Regions from separate parts of the Homo sapiens genome. Here regions 2, 3, 4 and 5 are each linked to region 1. Evidence: promoter capture Hi-C in 16 types of primary human blood cells and fetal thymus (Javierre and others, 2016). All regions are on one chromosome and are shown on one strand. The core of a region is centred on a gene start or on the middle of the fragment in contact, and the rest is flanking DNA. Distances in the headings are between cores, read along the strand shown. Region 1 holds the start of TTLL11 (tubulin tyrosine ligase like 11). Region 2 overlaps RC3H2 (ring finger and CCCH-type domains 2). Region 3 has its middle 7.7 kb from the start of PDCL. Region 4 has its middle 1.7 kb from the start of OR5C1. Region 5 overlaps LOC107987016 (a long non-coding RNA gene).

Region 1 (2,737 bases), core at 134-2,633:
TTACTGACACATGCCGTAAGCCAAGCCTGGAATATAAAATACAGTGCCTGATTTTATACCACTGATCATGAGGACAGTGGTGGTGCTGGTGGTGGTGATGGTGATGATGGTGGAAGAAGAGAGAAAGGAGAAGGTGGTAACGTAAGTTACCATTTATTGCAGACTTGTGCTATAAAACACTAAGTAGTGAGTCTTCTAATGCTAACAAGATGATGAGATAAGTATAATTGGCCTCACTTTACAGAGAAGGTAATAGGCTGAAGAGGTGAAGCAACTTACTCAAGGTCACACAGCTAAGTAGCAAAGTGTAGTGAGACCCTAGGCCTGTCTGCCTCCAAAATAAAAAGTGTTCCTCTGCCCAAGAGTCACACAGCAAGTGCTAAACAAATATAACTTCAATGAAGAAGTGAGAGAGCGGGTCCGGGGCCCCAGGGGCTTACAAGCTGGTGGAGGAGACAGACGTACACATATCTACAAGCAGAGGCAAATGCTGATGGCTGAGACATAAAAAGAGCTGCAGGGAGGCAGAGGAGTGAGTGGCTAACTTGACCTGGAGGGGTCTGGGGGGCCCTCTTGGAGGAAGTGATTTTGGGGGGTAGGCCTTGAAGGATGAGCACTTTGCGGCTGACAAGCAGGCCCGAGCGTGGTGCACCGCAGGAGCTCAGCCCTCGCCCGCCGACCTGACCTGGGCCGTGCCGAGACCTCTGAGGTCGTCCTGTCCACCCCACTGTGCCCACGCGGCCGGGTCGGGCCGGGCCTCACCTCCTTCCACTTGAGCTGGCGGATGCTGATCTTCAGGGCATCCAGGGAGGTCCTGGCCTTGGAGCTGTCCACGGTGACCGGCCGCTGGGAGCCGTTCTCGCCGGAACCGTGGCCCGAGCTCCGCTTGCAGCTTCGGCCCTTGTCCCGGGGCTTCCCGTGCGGGCAGAGGCCCTGCACCGGCTTCGGCTTGGACGGGGGCAGCGTGGGCGGCGGCCGCTGAAGGACCTGGGTGTTCCCCTCCTCAGCCGCACTGGGCTGCGCCGGGGCCGGGGCCAGGACCTTGGGCTGCTCCTCCCCTGCCTTGCACTCCGGTTCCCCGGCCGCGCCCGCGTCCACGCGGACCTGTTCCGCCACCGTCTCCGCTGTGGCCTCGGCCTCAGCTTTGGCCGCCGCTTTGGCCGCAGCCACCGCCTCCGCCTCCCACCGGGCCGCCAGCTCGCTCTCGGAGCTGCCCCGCCGCATGGTGCTCAGGGCCGGGGCCAGTGCCAGTGCCACCGCCGCCGCCGCCGCCGCTCCGCCGCCCCAGTCCGCCACCAAACTGCCGCCGCTGCAGCCGCTGCCACGCGTTCCCCGCCCGAGCCCGTTGCCATGATCGCTCAGGCTCGGGTTGACAGCGGCAGTCACCGCATCGAGACGGGGTCCGGGAAGGGACAATCGCCGGCCGAGCCCCAGCGACCTCATAGGCGAGGCTGCCCACGTGACCCTGCCTGTCACAGAGGCAGCGGCGGCCATGTTGGAAGAGGGCAAAGAGCCGCCAGGACCCGCCCACCCCGCGGATGCGCTGGATCTCGAGGGCGCAGAACTCGGAGTGGCGAGGAGAAGCGGGAGGGCAGATTGAGCGCGCGTGGGGCTCGTGAGCCTGGGGACTGGGAGTAAAAACAACTACCTCAAGCAGGAGGCTCAGTCCCCGCCAACACTCGCTGGGATAACTCTCGATAGGACGGAGGAGGAGCCCCCCAGTGGGACCCTCCTCAGTGCAATGGATGGGACCCTCCTCAGTGCAATGGATGGGACCCTCCTCAGTGCGATGGATGTGAGCAGCCCAGGCCCTAGGGGAGCAGAGAGTGTTCCGCTGAAGAAACCCTCTGCTGGTCCTTTGAGCGCCCCCAGATAAGAGGGGAGGCACTTTTCCCTGTTCTCAGGGAGCTCCCGATGGGATGGGGAAGTCATGGGCATGGGTAAGCCCCCTATAGATTCCCACTCGAGTTGAGGATATTAACGATTTTTTCTTTTTCTTTTCTTTTTTTCTTTTTTTTTTTTTTTTTTAGACAGGGTCTCTCTCTGTCGCCCAGGCTGGAGTGCAGTGGCGCGATCCCGGCTCACTGCAGCAGCCTCAACTTCCAGAGCTCAAGGGATCCTCCCACCCCAACCTCCCGAGTAGCTGAGACTACACGAATGTACCACCACTCCCGGCTAAGTTTTGTGTTTCTCGTAGAAACGTGGTTTCGCCATGTTGCCGAGGCTGTTCTCAAACTCCTGACCTCAGGTAATCTGCCAGCCTCGGCCTCCCAAAGTACTAGGATTACAAGCAGAACCACCGCGTCTCTTGTTTTCTTTTTTGTTTTTGTTTTTGTTTTGTTGTTGTTGTTGATGTTGTTACAGAGTTTCGCTCTTGTCGCCCAGGCTGGGATGCAATGGTGTGATCTCGGCTCATTGCAGCCTCCGCCTCCCGGCTTCAAGCAATTCTCCTGCCTCAGCCTTGTGAGTAGCTGGGATTGCAGGAGCCGGCCACCATGCCCGGCTAATTTTTTGTATTTTTAGTATAGACGGGGTTTCACCATCTTGGCCAGGCTGGTCTCTAACTCCCGACCTCAGATGATCCACCCGCCTCAGCCTCCCAAAGTGCTGAGATTACAAGCGTGAGCCACCACGTCCAGCCTGACTGCTTTTACTTATATCACTTTTTTTGTTGTGGTAAAATATAACAAAATTTGCCATTTTAACCATTTTTAGTGTACAATTCAGTGGCATTCTG
Region 2 (2,737 bases), core at 99-2,598, 760 kb after region 1:
GCCTCTCAATTATCTAATTGTGGCACTTACTTCAATTGGTTCACTTTGTCCATCAGGTTCATCAGTATCAAGTGCTGAAAGCTCTAACTCGATATCCCTATCAGGTTTAGTATCTGTTGCATCTTCTGTATAATCACTCTGTAACTAAGAAAAATACTGATTTTGCTCTCCCTCTCCCTCTCCCTCTCCCCATGGTCTCCCTCTCCCCATGGTCTCCCTCTCCCTCTCTTTCCATGGTCTCCCTCTCATGCCGAGCCGAAGCTGGACTATACTGCTGCCATCTCGGCTCACTGCAACCTCCCTGCCTGATTCTCCTGCCTCAGCCTGCAGAGTGCCTGCAATTGCAGGCGCGCGCCGCCACGCCTGACTGGTTTTCGTATTTTTTTGGTGGAGACGGGGTTTCGCTGTGATGGCCGGGCTGGTCTCCAGCTCCTAACCACGAGTGATCTGCCAGCCTCGGCCTCCCGAGGTGCCGGGATTGCAGACGGAGTCTGGTTCACTCAGTGCTCAATGGCGCCCAGGCTGGAGTGCAGTGGCGTGATCTCGGCTCGCTACAACCTCCACCTCCCAGCCGCCTGCCTTGGCCTCCCAAAAAGCCGAGATTGCAGCCTCTGCCCGGCCGCCACCCCGTCTGGGAAGTGAGGAGCGTCTCTGCCTGGCCGCCCATCGTCTGGGATGTGAGGAGCCCCTCTGCCTGGCTGCCCAGTCTGGAAAGTGAGGACCGTCTCTGCCCGGCCGCCATCCCATCTGGGAAGTGAGGAGCGCCTCTTCCCGGCCGCCATCACATCTAGGAAGTGAGGAGCGTCTCTGCCCGGCCGCCCGTCGTCTGGGATGTGGGGAGCGCCTCTGCCCCGCCGCCCTGTCTGGGATGTGAGGAATGCCTCTGCCCGGCCGCCACCCCGTCTGGGAGGTGAGGAGCGTCTCTGCCCGGCCGCCCCGTCTGAGAAGTGAGGAGACCCTCCGCCCGGCAGCCGCCCCGTATGAGAAGTGAGGAGCCTCTCCGCCCGGCAGCCGCCCCGTCTGAGAAGTGAGGAGCCTCTCTGCCTGGCAGCCACCCCGTCTGGGAAGTGAGGAGCGTCTCCGCCCGGCAGCCGCCCCGTCCGGGAGGGAGGTGGGGGGGTCAGCCCCCCGCCTGGCCAGCCGCCCCGTCCGGGAGGTGAGGGGCGCCTCTGCCCGGCCGCCCCTACTGGGAAGTGAGGAGCCCCTCTGCCTAGCCAGCCGCCCCGTCCGGGAGGGAGGTGGGGGGGTCAGCCCCCCGCCCGGCCAGCCGCCCCGTCCGGGAGGGAGGTGTGGGGGTCAGCCCCCGGCCCGGCCAGCCGCCCTGACCGGGAGGGAGGTGGAGGGGTCAGCTCCCAACCCGGCCAGCCGCCCTGTCCGGGAGGTGAGGGGCGCCTCTGCCCTGCCGCCCCTACTGGGAAGTGAGGAGCCCCTCTGCCCGGCCAGCCGCCCCGTCCGGGAGGGAGGTGGGGGGGTCAGCCCCCCGCCTGGCCAGCCGCCCCATCCGGGAGGTGAGGGGCGCCTCTGCCCGGCCGCCCCTACTGGGAAGTGAGGAGCCCCTCTGCCCAGCCACCACCCCGTCTGGGAGGTGTGCCCAACAGCTCATTGAGAACGGGCCATGATGACAATGGCGGTTTTGTGGAATAGAAAGGGGGGAAAGGTGGGGAAAAGATTGAGAAATCGGATGGTAGCCGTGTCTGTGTAGAAAGAAGTAGACATGGGAGACTTTTCATTTTGTTCTGTACTAAGAAAAATTCTTCTGCCTTGGGATCCTGTTGATCTGTGACCTTACCTCCAACCCTGTGCTCTCTGAAACATGTGCTGTGTCCACTCAGAGTTAAATGGCTTAAGGGCGGTGCAAGATGTGCTTTGTTAAACAGATGCTTGAAGGCAGCATGCTCATTAAGAGTCATCACCACTCCCTAATCTCAAGTACCCAGGGACACAAACGCTGCGGAAGGCCGCAGGGTCCTCTGCCTAGGAAAACCAGAGACCTTTGTTCACTTGTTTATCTGCTGACCTTCCCTCCACTATTGTCCTATGACCCTGCCAAATCCCCCTCTGTGAGAAACACCCAAGAATGATCAATAAAAAAAAAAAAAAAAAAAGAAAAATACTGATTTTATACCTGTGGAACCTGGGGTTTCCCTTTTAAATTAAAGTAAAAAATCCCAATGATCAGCCAGGCACGGGGGCTCACACCTGTAATCCTAGCACTTTGGGAAGGTGAGGCGAGCAGATCACTTGAGGTCAGGAGTTCAAGACCAGCTTAGCCAACATGGTGAAACCCTGTCTCTACTAAAAACACAAAAATTAGCTGGGCATGGTGGTGGGTGCCTGTAATCCCAGCTACTCGGGAAGCTGAGGCAGGAGAATCGCTTGAACCTGAGAGCCAGAGGCTGCAGTGAGCCAAGATCGTGCCATTGCACTCCAGGCGATAGAGCAAGATTCCATCTCAAAAAAACAAAAATCCCGATGATCTAGTTAAAGAATTATTTAAGAAATCTGGGATTACAATTTTATTTCTGTTATAAGTTTTAAAAGCAATCAATCATCCATCAGAGATAGGCACACCAAAATGCACTCAGTAATGGTATAACCAAGATGCAGCAGCAGAAAACAAATACATTAAGCATGAAGCCGAAAGGTTCAGTTTCTTTACCTCTCCATTTCTTAGTTCAATTTCCTTGCTTAAAAGGTTTAAGGTAAGGTGACGGCCTTCATCCAGGGAATTCCACTT
Region 3 (2,737 bases), core at 171-2,670, 740 kb after region 1:
ACCTTGCATTCCTGAAATAAACACTATTTGGACTTGATGTATTATACCTGATATACATAGCTAGATTTACTAACATTTTAAGGATTTTTGCATCTATGTTCATGAGAGATATTAACCTACGATTTTCTTTTTTTGTAATGTACTGTGTGGTTATGTTTATCTAATAAAACTAGTTGTAAGTTCCCTCTTCCACTTTCTGAAGTAGCTTCTGTAAAATTGGCATTATTTCTCCTTAAATATTTATTAATAATAGAATAAACCTGTGAAGCGATCTGGGCCTGGAGTTTTCTTTGTGGGAAGGTTTTTCATAATTAATTCAATTTCTTTGGTAGTTATAGGGCTATGGCAGGCAGCTTCTAAAATCGCTCCTAGGCTAATGATCAATTTATTGCCCCTCTGCTCCCAATTCGCCCTTGAATATATGCTCTTCAATAATGGATAGAATTCAGTGAAGCATTTCTCCTTTGCAGTGAGCACAGTGATGAGCTTTCTCAGTAGAGGGCACTGGAGGGGCATTGCAGGAGGAGGGGCTCTCCTACTGTTTCCCACAGTTTCGTGGTAGGTCAGTGATGTGGATGTAATGACATCCAGGGGAGCTCTTTCCCAGCCATGTGTCCAGCACATATGGTCCCTTGGTGACATTGCAACCTCAGTCTAGACCAGCAACAATTTTCCTGTGGCCCTCTCAATGCGAAAATTAGCTTTCTGAAGGCTTCCTTCCTGTCGCCTACCAGTTTCCTGTCCCCCACCAGCCAACTCTCTCTGCAGGCTCCTGTGTACCTCTCCTGCTGCCTGGAGAGTAGCTTTCTGTCTGCCAGTGACTAGTTCCAGCCTGGGCCAACTAGCGGACCTCTGGGCTGAACTATACCTTCTCCGAGGTGTGACCCTCAGCCTTGAGAAGTGGACCCCTTTCCAAGTTTGTGTTTCCTTAGGTACTCTCCCTAACCTATAGAGTACTATGTGGAATTTACTTTTAGCTGGTAGTCATTTATTAGCATTTAATGATTCTTTATATTAAGCTTTACCCCATATAACGTACTGTGTAGTTTCTACCTCCTGATTGGACACAGACTGATACTACTCCCAAAGTTCCCCGCCTCTTGGTATTCATGCCCTGTGTAATCCCTTTCCCTTGCTTCTAAGGATTAGAATACCACAAAAGTAATGGGATGTTGCTTCCAAAATTTGGTTATAAAAGACTGTGACGTCTTTTTAGCACACACTCTCTCTCTCTCACTCTCTGTTGCCTGTATTGCTTGCTGCTTGGATGAGCCACTCTACCATATTGTGAGCTGCACTACAGAGAAGCTCATGTGGCCAGAAACTAACAGTAGCTGTATTAGTCCTTTCTTGTGATGCTATAAAGAAATAACTGAGATGGCCGGGCGCGGTGGCTCACGCCTGTAATCCCAGCACTTTGGGAGGCCGAGGGGGGTGGATCACGAGGTCAGGAGATTGAGGCCATCCTGGCCAACATGGTGAAACCCCGTCTCTACTAAAAATACAAAAATTAGCTGGGCATGGTGGTGGGCGCCTATAGTCCCAGCTACTCAGGAGGCTAACGCGTAAGAATCGCTTGAACCCGGGAGGCGGAGGTTGCAGTGAGCCAAGATAACGCCACTGTACTCCAGCCTGGCAACAGAGCAAGACTGTCTCAAAAAAAAGAAAAACAAAAAACAAAAAAAAAAAAACCTGAGACTGGTATTTCTACATAAAGAAATACCGATACTGATAAAGAAAAGAGGTTTAATTTGGCTCACAGTTCCGCAGGTTGTACAGGCATGGCACCAATAGCTGCTTAGCTCCTGGTGAGGGCCTGAGGAAGCTTACAATCATGACAGAAAGCAAAGAGGCGCCAGCATATCACGTGGTGAGAGCAGAAGCAAGGTGGGGGTAGGGGAGGTGTCACCCTCTTTTAAACAACCAGATCTAGCATGAACTGAGCAAGAACTCATCACCAAGGGGATGGCACTAAGCCATTTATGAGGGATCCATCCCCATGATCCAATACGTCCCACTAGGCCCCACGTCCAACACGAGGTCACATTTCAACATGAGATTTGGAGGGGACAAATATCCAAATCATATCATTCCTCCCCTGGCACCCATCCCCCACATCTCATGTCCTCCTCACGTTGCAAAATACAATAATCCCTTCTCGTTAATCCCCCAAAGTCTTAACTCATTCCAACATCAAATCAAAAGTCCTAAGTCTTCTCTGAGACTCACTTTCTTTCACCTATGAACCTGTAAAATCAAAACCAGTTATTTACTTCCAATAAACAACGGTAGTACAGGCATTGGGTAAACATTCCCATTCCAAAAGGGAGAAACTGACCGAAATAAAGGGGCTACAGGCCCTATGCAAGTCTGAAACTCAGCAGGGCAGATATTAAATCTTACAATTCCAAAATAATCCTTGAGACTGGGCAACATCGTGAAACCTGTCTCTACAGAAAATTAAAAAAACAAAATTAGCCAGGCATGGTGGTGTGCACCTGTAGTCCCAGCTACTCAGGAGGCTGAGGTGGGAGAATCACTTTAGCCCCAGAGGTCAAGGCTGCAGTGAGCCATGATTGCGCCACTGCTCTGGGCAACAGAGTGAGACCCTGTCTAAAACACACATACGGTCAGCAAAGCCTGACTCCTGTCCTCTCTCTCTCCTCTCCAGACAGCATGAGCTTCACCACTCGCTCCACCTTCTCCACCAACTACCAGTCCCTGGGCTCCGTCCAGC
Region 4 (2,737 bases), core at 144-2,643, 690 kb after region 1:
TTAAGACACTGGGGCGTGCACAGTGGTCGGAAATGTCCCAGTTTACATTTCCACAAGCACAACCTCACCAACGTGATATTGTCAAAATTTTTCATCCAATTTGTGCTTTGTAGGAGATTTTCACCATCCTCACTGGGCACAGGTAAGTCCCAAACATCTAAACTTCTCTTAAAAGGAGGGGAAGAAGAATTTATTCAGCTCCGGGCCCCTTCCTGCACACCTATTGCCTCTTAAAAACCTCCACAGAGATATTATGATTCCTACTTTGCAAGGAGAAAACCAAAGTTAAGGGAGGTGAAGTGACTTGCCTGAAGTTACACACCAGAAAGTTGTGGAACTAGGACTCAAAAGCAAGTGTTCATGCTGCTAATGTCTGTACTCTTGTTCACTGTGTTATGGACTCAACTAACATTTTTTGAGCTCTGATTATATACCTCACCCTGGAGATACAAAAATGAATTATGGGGCATTCTTAGCACACAGTAATGCTCAATAAAACTTTGTTGAATGAATATTGAATCAAGGAGCTCAAAGTTCACAGGAGACACACATGTAAAAGATATTTGCAATAGAATGGTGAAGCAGCATGAGAGAGGTACAGCAGTTGTTCCCCTTTACCCACAGTTTTGCTTTCTGCAGTTTCAGTTACCTGCAGTCAACTGTGACCCGAAACTATTAAAAACAGGCTGGGTGCAGTGGCTCACACCTGTAATCCCAACACTTTGGGAAGCCGAGACAGACGAATCACCTGAGGTCAGGAGTTCGAGACCAACCTGGCCAATGTGGTGAAACCCCATCTCTACTAAAAATACAAAAAAATTAGCTGGGCATGGTAGCACACACCTGTAGTCCCAGCCACTCAGGAGGCTGAGGCAGGAGAATCACTTGGACCTAGGAGGTGGAGGTTGCAGTGAGCCGAGATCACACCACTGCACTCCAGCCTGGGTGACAGAGTGAGACTCCATCTCAAAAAAAAAAAAAACAAAAACAAAACAAAACAAAACAAAACAAAACAAAAAAAAAAAAAATATATATATATATATATATATATAAAAGTAAGATATTTTGAGGGACAGAGAGAGAGACCATATTCACCTAACTTGTATTATAGTACATTGTTATAATTGTTCTATGTTATTATTGTTGTTGTTATCCCTTACTATGCCTAATTTATAAATTAAGCTTTATCATGGATATGAATGTATAGGGAAAAAAATCACATATATAGGGTTCAGTACGATCTGTGATTTCACACATCCACAGGGGGTCTTGGAACGTATTCCCCATAGATAAGGGGGAACTACTGTATGCTCCAGTGCAGCAGGCCACAGACAAGAAAAATGTTTAGTTTTAAGGGACAGATCAGGGAAGGCTTCACACTGGAGAAACTTTTTACCAAACACAAAAGGAGGAAATGGGTTCCAGGCAAAGAGGACAAATGCAAGGCACAGGAGTGTGAAGCAACATTGCATTTTCTGGGAATTATACTACTTTTGATTGCCATAAAGTTGCTTCCTTCCAGTTTGGAGCCAGAGCATCCAGTTCAATTTATTTCCATTCGCAGGGCCTTTGTTAAATGCCTGCGTGTGCTAGGCCCTGTGTGAGAAGCTTTACATGCATTATCTCATCGAATCCTTGCAGCTTTCCCCCATTATCCAGATGAGAACATTGAGGCTCAGAGAGGCCAAGAATTCAGCTCAGGAATATATTCACATTTTCTGTTCTTTCTACTCCCCACTGTTTTCGCAAGATACCAGGCTACTCCTTTCTCCGATCTTACTCCAAAGGAAAGATGTCCCTACTAGCAAACCTCAAAAGCCATGGCCAGGTGCCCGTTGGATCTGAAGATTATTTCTGCTCATTCCACTGTCTCTTTTCTTACCTGGAAAACTGGAGAGGAGAATGCATATAGAGTCACAAAGTTTTCAATCATTGGCTGGACACTAAATATCATCCCATTCATTCATTTAACAAATCTTTTTTGAGCACCAGCTATGTGCTAGGCAATGCTCTCAGTGCTGTAGACACAAAAGTGAATAAGAGGGACAAGACCCCTGTGGGTGTGGTGGAGCATGCCTATAATCCCAGCTGCTTGGGAGGCTGAGGTGGGAGGAGGATCACTTAAGCCCAAGAATTTTAGTTCAGCCTGGGCAACATAGTGAGACCTTGTGTCTCTTTAAAAAAAAAAAAAAAAAGGCTGGGCGTGGTGGCTCACACCTGTAATCCCAACACTTTGGGAAGCTGGGGCAGGCAGACTTGAGATCAGGAGTTGAAGACCAGCCTGACCACCAACATGGTGAAACCCTACCTCTACTTAAAAAATACAAAAATTAGCCGGGCATGGTGGCGGGCACCTGTAGTCCCAGCTACTCGGGAGGCTGAGGTAGGAGAGTCACTTGAACCCAGGAGGCGGAGGTTGCAGTGACCCAAGATTGCACCACTGCACGCCAGCCTGGGCAACAAAACAAGACTCCATCTCAAAAAAAAGAAAAGAAAAGAAAAGAAAAAAGAAAAAAAGACGGGCCGGGTACAGTGGCTCATGCCTGTAATCCCAGCACTTCAGGAGGCTGAGGTGGGCGGATCACCTGAAGTTGGGAGTTCGAGACCAGCCTGACCAACATGGAGAAACTCCATCTCTACTAAAAATATAAAATTAGCCAGGCACGGTGGCACATGCCTATAATCCCAGCTACTTGGGAGGCTGAGGCAGGAGAATCGCTTGAACCCAGAAGGCGGA
Region 5 (2,737 bases), core at 148-2,647, 550 kb before region 1:
CTTTCTACGGAGGCTCACTGCTGGGGACAAATTGGGCTCCCGGCAAAGAGCCCCTCCCACTGACTTCCTCTTCTGGGAGAAGAAAAACAAGAAGGGCAATGAAAAGTGGGACAAGCTGCAGCTATTCCTACCATCTCTTCCCACCCACTGAATCTCACCACAGAACAAGCAGCTGCAAGAGAAAAGGACTGGCCTTGTCTCTCAGGGGTCGGTCCTGCAGAGGGTGGGCTCACGATGCCAAGGGAGAAATATGGTGGTAACAGCATGGACCGGACCTGGGTTGGGCTCCAGGCACTGGCTTTTATTTTATTTTATCTCATTTTTTTTGAGATGGAGTTTCGCTCTTGTTGCCCAGGCTGGAGTGCAATGGTGCCATCTCGGCTCACTGCAACCTCCGCCTCCCGGGTTCAAGCAATTCTCCTGCCTCAGCCTCCTGAGTAGCTGGGATTACAGGCATGCGCCACCATGTCCAGCTAATTTTGTATTTTTAGTAGAGACAGGGTTTCTCCATGTTAGTCAGGGTAGTCTCAAACTCCTGACCTCGGGTGATCCGCCCGCCTCGGCCTCCCAAAGTGCTGGGATTACAGTTGTGAGCCACCACACCTGGCCTGATACTGGCCTTTTAAAGGGCAAAGCCATCCAATCCTCCAGGAAAACATGGGGAAGGAGAGTTCCAACATTTCCTGAGCACCTCCATGTCCGGCACTGAGCACATTCCATCTTTTCTCTCTCTCGCTCCTGACATTGACCTAGAAGGCCTGTCTGACATTAATTTGCCCCGGAGGCCTGAGGATGGTGTCAGCCTGCAGACTGCTGCTGTTCCTCAGCTCTCTTCTGCCCTGCTCGCCTCCCTCTATAGTCCTCAAGGCCCATCTGCAACCACTATCCCATCCATACCTGAGGTTGCCCTGGCTCTGACACTTGCATGACATTTGGGAGCTGCTCTAATGCCACCTTCTGGCTGGTACTAGAAAGATGAGGACCTGGCCAGGCACAGTGGCTCACATCTGTAATCCCAGAACTTTGGCAGGCCGAGGGGAGCGGATCACCTGAGGTCGGGAGTTTGAGACCAGCCTGGCCAACATGGTGAAACCCTGTCTCTACAAAAAATGCAAAAATTAGCCAGGCATGATGGCACATGCCTATAATCCCAGCTATTCGGCAGGCTGAGGAAGGAGAATCACTTGAACCCGGGAAGCGGAGTTTGCAGTGAGCCAAGATTGTGCCATTGCACTCCAGCTTGGGTGACAGAGCAAGACTCTGTCTCAAAAAAAAGAATAAAGGAAAAAAAGACGAGGACCCGGTCGTGGCTTCAGCCTCTCTGACCCAGGCCAGAGGGCCCAGCAATCCAGTTGTACATTGTCTGATTGGTTGGTTGATTGGTTGGTTTGCTCCCTGCCTTGCTGCAGAGAGGACCTCAGGCAGCTTCCAAGGATGCGTGATACACAACCAGAGCAGAAAAAAAGAGTAGGGGGAAAACAAGAAAGTAGCACAAGGGTGGGAGCACAGAGGATCCAGGAACAAAGCTAAAGTGCAGAACATAAGGATCTACTGTGGGGGAAACAGACCACAGACTCAGGATTTTTTTTTTTTTTTTTTGAGATGGAGTCTCACTCTGTCACCCCGGCTGGAGTGCAGTGGCCTGATCTCTGCTCACTGCAACCTCCACCTCCCAGGTTCAAGCGATTCTCCTGCCTCAGCCTCCCGAGTAGCTGGGATTACAGGTGCACACCACCACGCCCAGCTAATTTTTGTATTTTTAGTAGAGACGGGGTTTCACCGTGTTGGCCAGGCTGGTCTCGAACTCCTGACCTCAGGTGATCCACCCACCTCGACCTCCCAAAGTGCTGGGATTACAGGCATGAGCCACCATGCCCGGCCAGGATTTTTTTTTTCTAACTTCTTAATTTTATTTTATAAAGAGAAGGGTCTCACTGTGTTGCCCAGGCTGGTCTCAAATTCCTGGCCTCAAGCTGTCCTCCCACCCCAGCCTCCCAAAGAGCTGGGATTATAGGTGTGAGCCACCTGTAATCCTGGCCAACTCAGGTAATTTTGAAGATGGCTTTTATGGTCTACTTGGGCACAAAGGAATGCGGGGAACATCCACCAGCCATGGCTGGGTGACAACTCATGTTCGTTCTCAGCCTATCAGTTTTACACGTTCTCTTTATAAATGATTTCACACACACACACGCACACACATACATACACTCACCACCTCCTTCTGGAGCTCATGTTGAGATGTACAGGGGAGGGAGACCCTTGTAACACAGATTTGAAAAATAATTCAGATATGCATCTTGAAAACAAGGAGAGGCCAGGCGCAGTGGCTCATGCCGATAATCCCAGCACTTTGGGAGGCTGAGGCAGGAGGATCACCTGAGCCCAGGAATTTGAGACCAGCCTGGGCAACATAGTGAGACCTTGTCTCTACAAAAATTTAAAAAGTTAGCTGGGTGCAATGGTGTGTGCCTGTAGTCCCAGCGACTTGGGAGGCTGAGGCGGGAGGATCACTTGAACCTGGGAAGTCAAGGCTGCAGTGACCTGTGACCAGGCCACTGCATTCCAGCCTGGGCAACGGAGTGAGAGCTTGTCTCAAAACACAAAACAAAACAAACAGAGAGAGTTTCAGTAAACAAAATAAAGTATTTGTGTGAAAAAAGATTCAGATACACATTTGAAAAGAAAGTATTCTTTTGGAAGACAAAGGGAATATGATTCTGAAGGAGTGAAACAT

What was found. Contacts are between HindIII fragments. The CHiCAGO score rates a contact against its expected background, and 5 or more counts as called.
Region 2: a fragment that was not itself captured here is called in contact with the fragment with the promoter of TTLL11 in region 1 in 1 of 17 cell types (naive CD4 T cells); the score reaches 5.3 in naive CD4 T cells.
Region 3: a fragment that was not itself captured here is called in contact with the fragment with the promoter of TTLL11 in region 1 in 9 of 17 cell types (total CD8 T cells, non-activated CD4 T cells, naive CD8 T cells and 6 more); the score reaches 8.7 in total CD8 T cells.
Region 4: a fragment that was not itself captured here is called in contact with the fragment with the promoter of TTLL11 in region 1 in 1 of 17 cell types (total B cells); the score reaches 5.0 in total B cells.
Region 5: a fragment that was not itself captured here is called in contact with the fragment with the promoter of TTLL11 in region 1 in 1 of 17 cell types (endothelial precursors); the score reaches 6.1 in endothelial precursors.

The regions. Positions count from the first base shown.
Region 1 is chr9:122,091,925-122,094,661 of GRCh38, forward strand. It overlaps TTLL11 (tubulin tyrosine ligase like 11), which reads right to left and starts at 1,384. Exons shown (of 9, transcript NM_001139442.2): 1 at 763-1,384. The coding sequence starts at 1,224. LOC124902263 (a long non-coding RNA gene) reads left to right here and starts at 2,208. Exons shown (of 2, transcript XR_007061757.1): 1 at 2,208-2,248. RefSeq lists enhancers at 912-1,625, 1,375-1,564 and a silencer at 975-1,024. The HindIII fragment of the contact is 9,416 bases long and covers 1-2,737 here.
Region 2 is chr9:122,851,293-122,854,029 of GRCh38, forward strand. RC3H2 (ring finger and CCCH-type domains 2) reads right to left here. Exons shown (of 21, transcript NM_001100588.3): 18 at 2,660-2,737; 19 at 31-144. Among named protein-coding and RNA genes, the nearest start is that of PDCL, 24 kb to the left of the region's middle. RefSeq lists an enhancer at 70-845. The HindIII fragment of the contact is 6,549 bases long and covers 1-2,737 here.
Region 3 is chr9:122,834,878-122,837,614 of GRCh38, forward strand. It overlaps the pseudogene KRT18P67. Among named protein-coding and RNA genes, the nearest start is that of PDCL, 7.7 kb to the left of the region's middle. The HindIII fragment of the contact is 806 bases long and covers 1,018-1,823 here.
Region 4 is chr9:122,785,909-122,788,645 of GRCh38, forward strand. No RefSeq gene overlaps it. Among named protein-coding and RNA genes, the nearest start is that of OR5C1, 1.7 kb to the right of the region's middle. The HindIII fragment of the contact is 426 bases long and covers 1,181-1,606 here.
Region 5 is chr9:121,537,524-121,540,260 of GRCh38, forward strand. The region is part of intron 1 of LOC107987016 (a long non-coding RNA gene); the gene reads right to left. Among named protein-coding and RNA genes, the nearest start is that of GGTA1, 39 kb to the left of the region's middle. The HindIII fragment of the contact is 2,907 bases long and covers 1-2,737 here.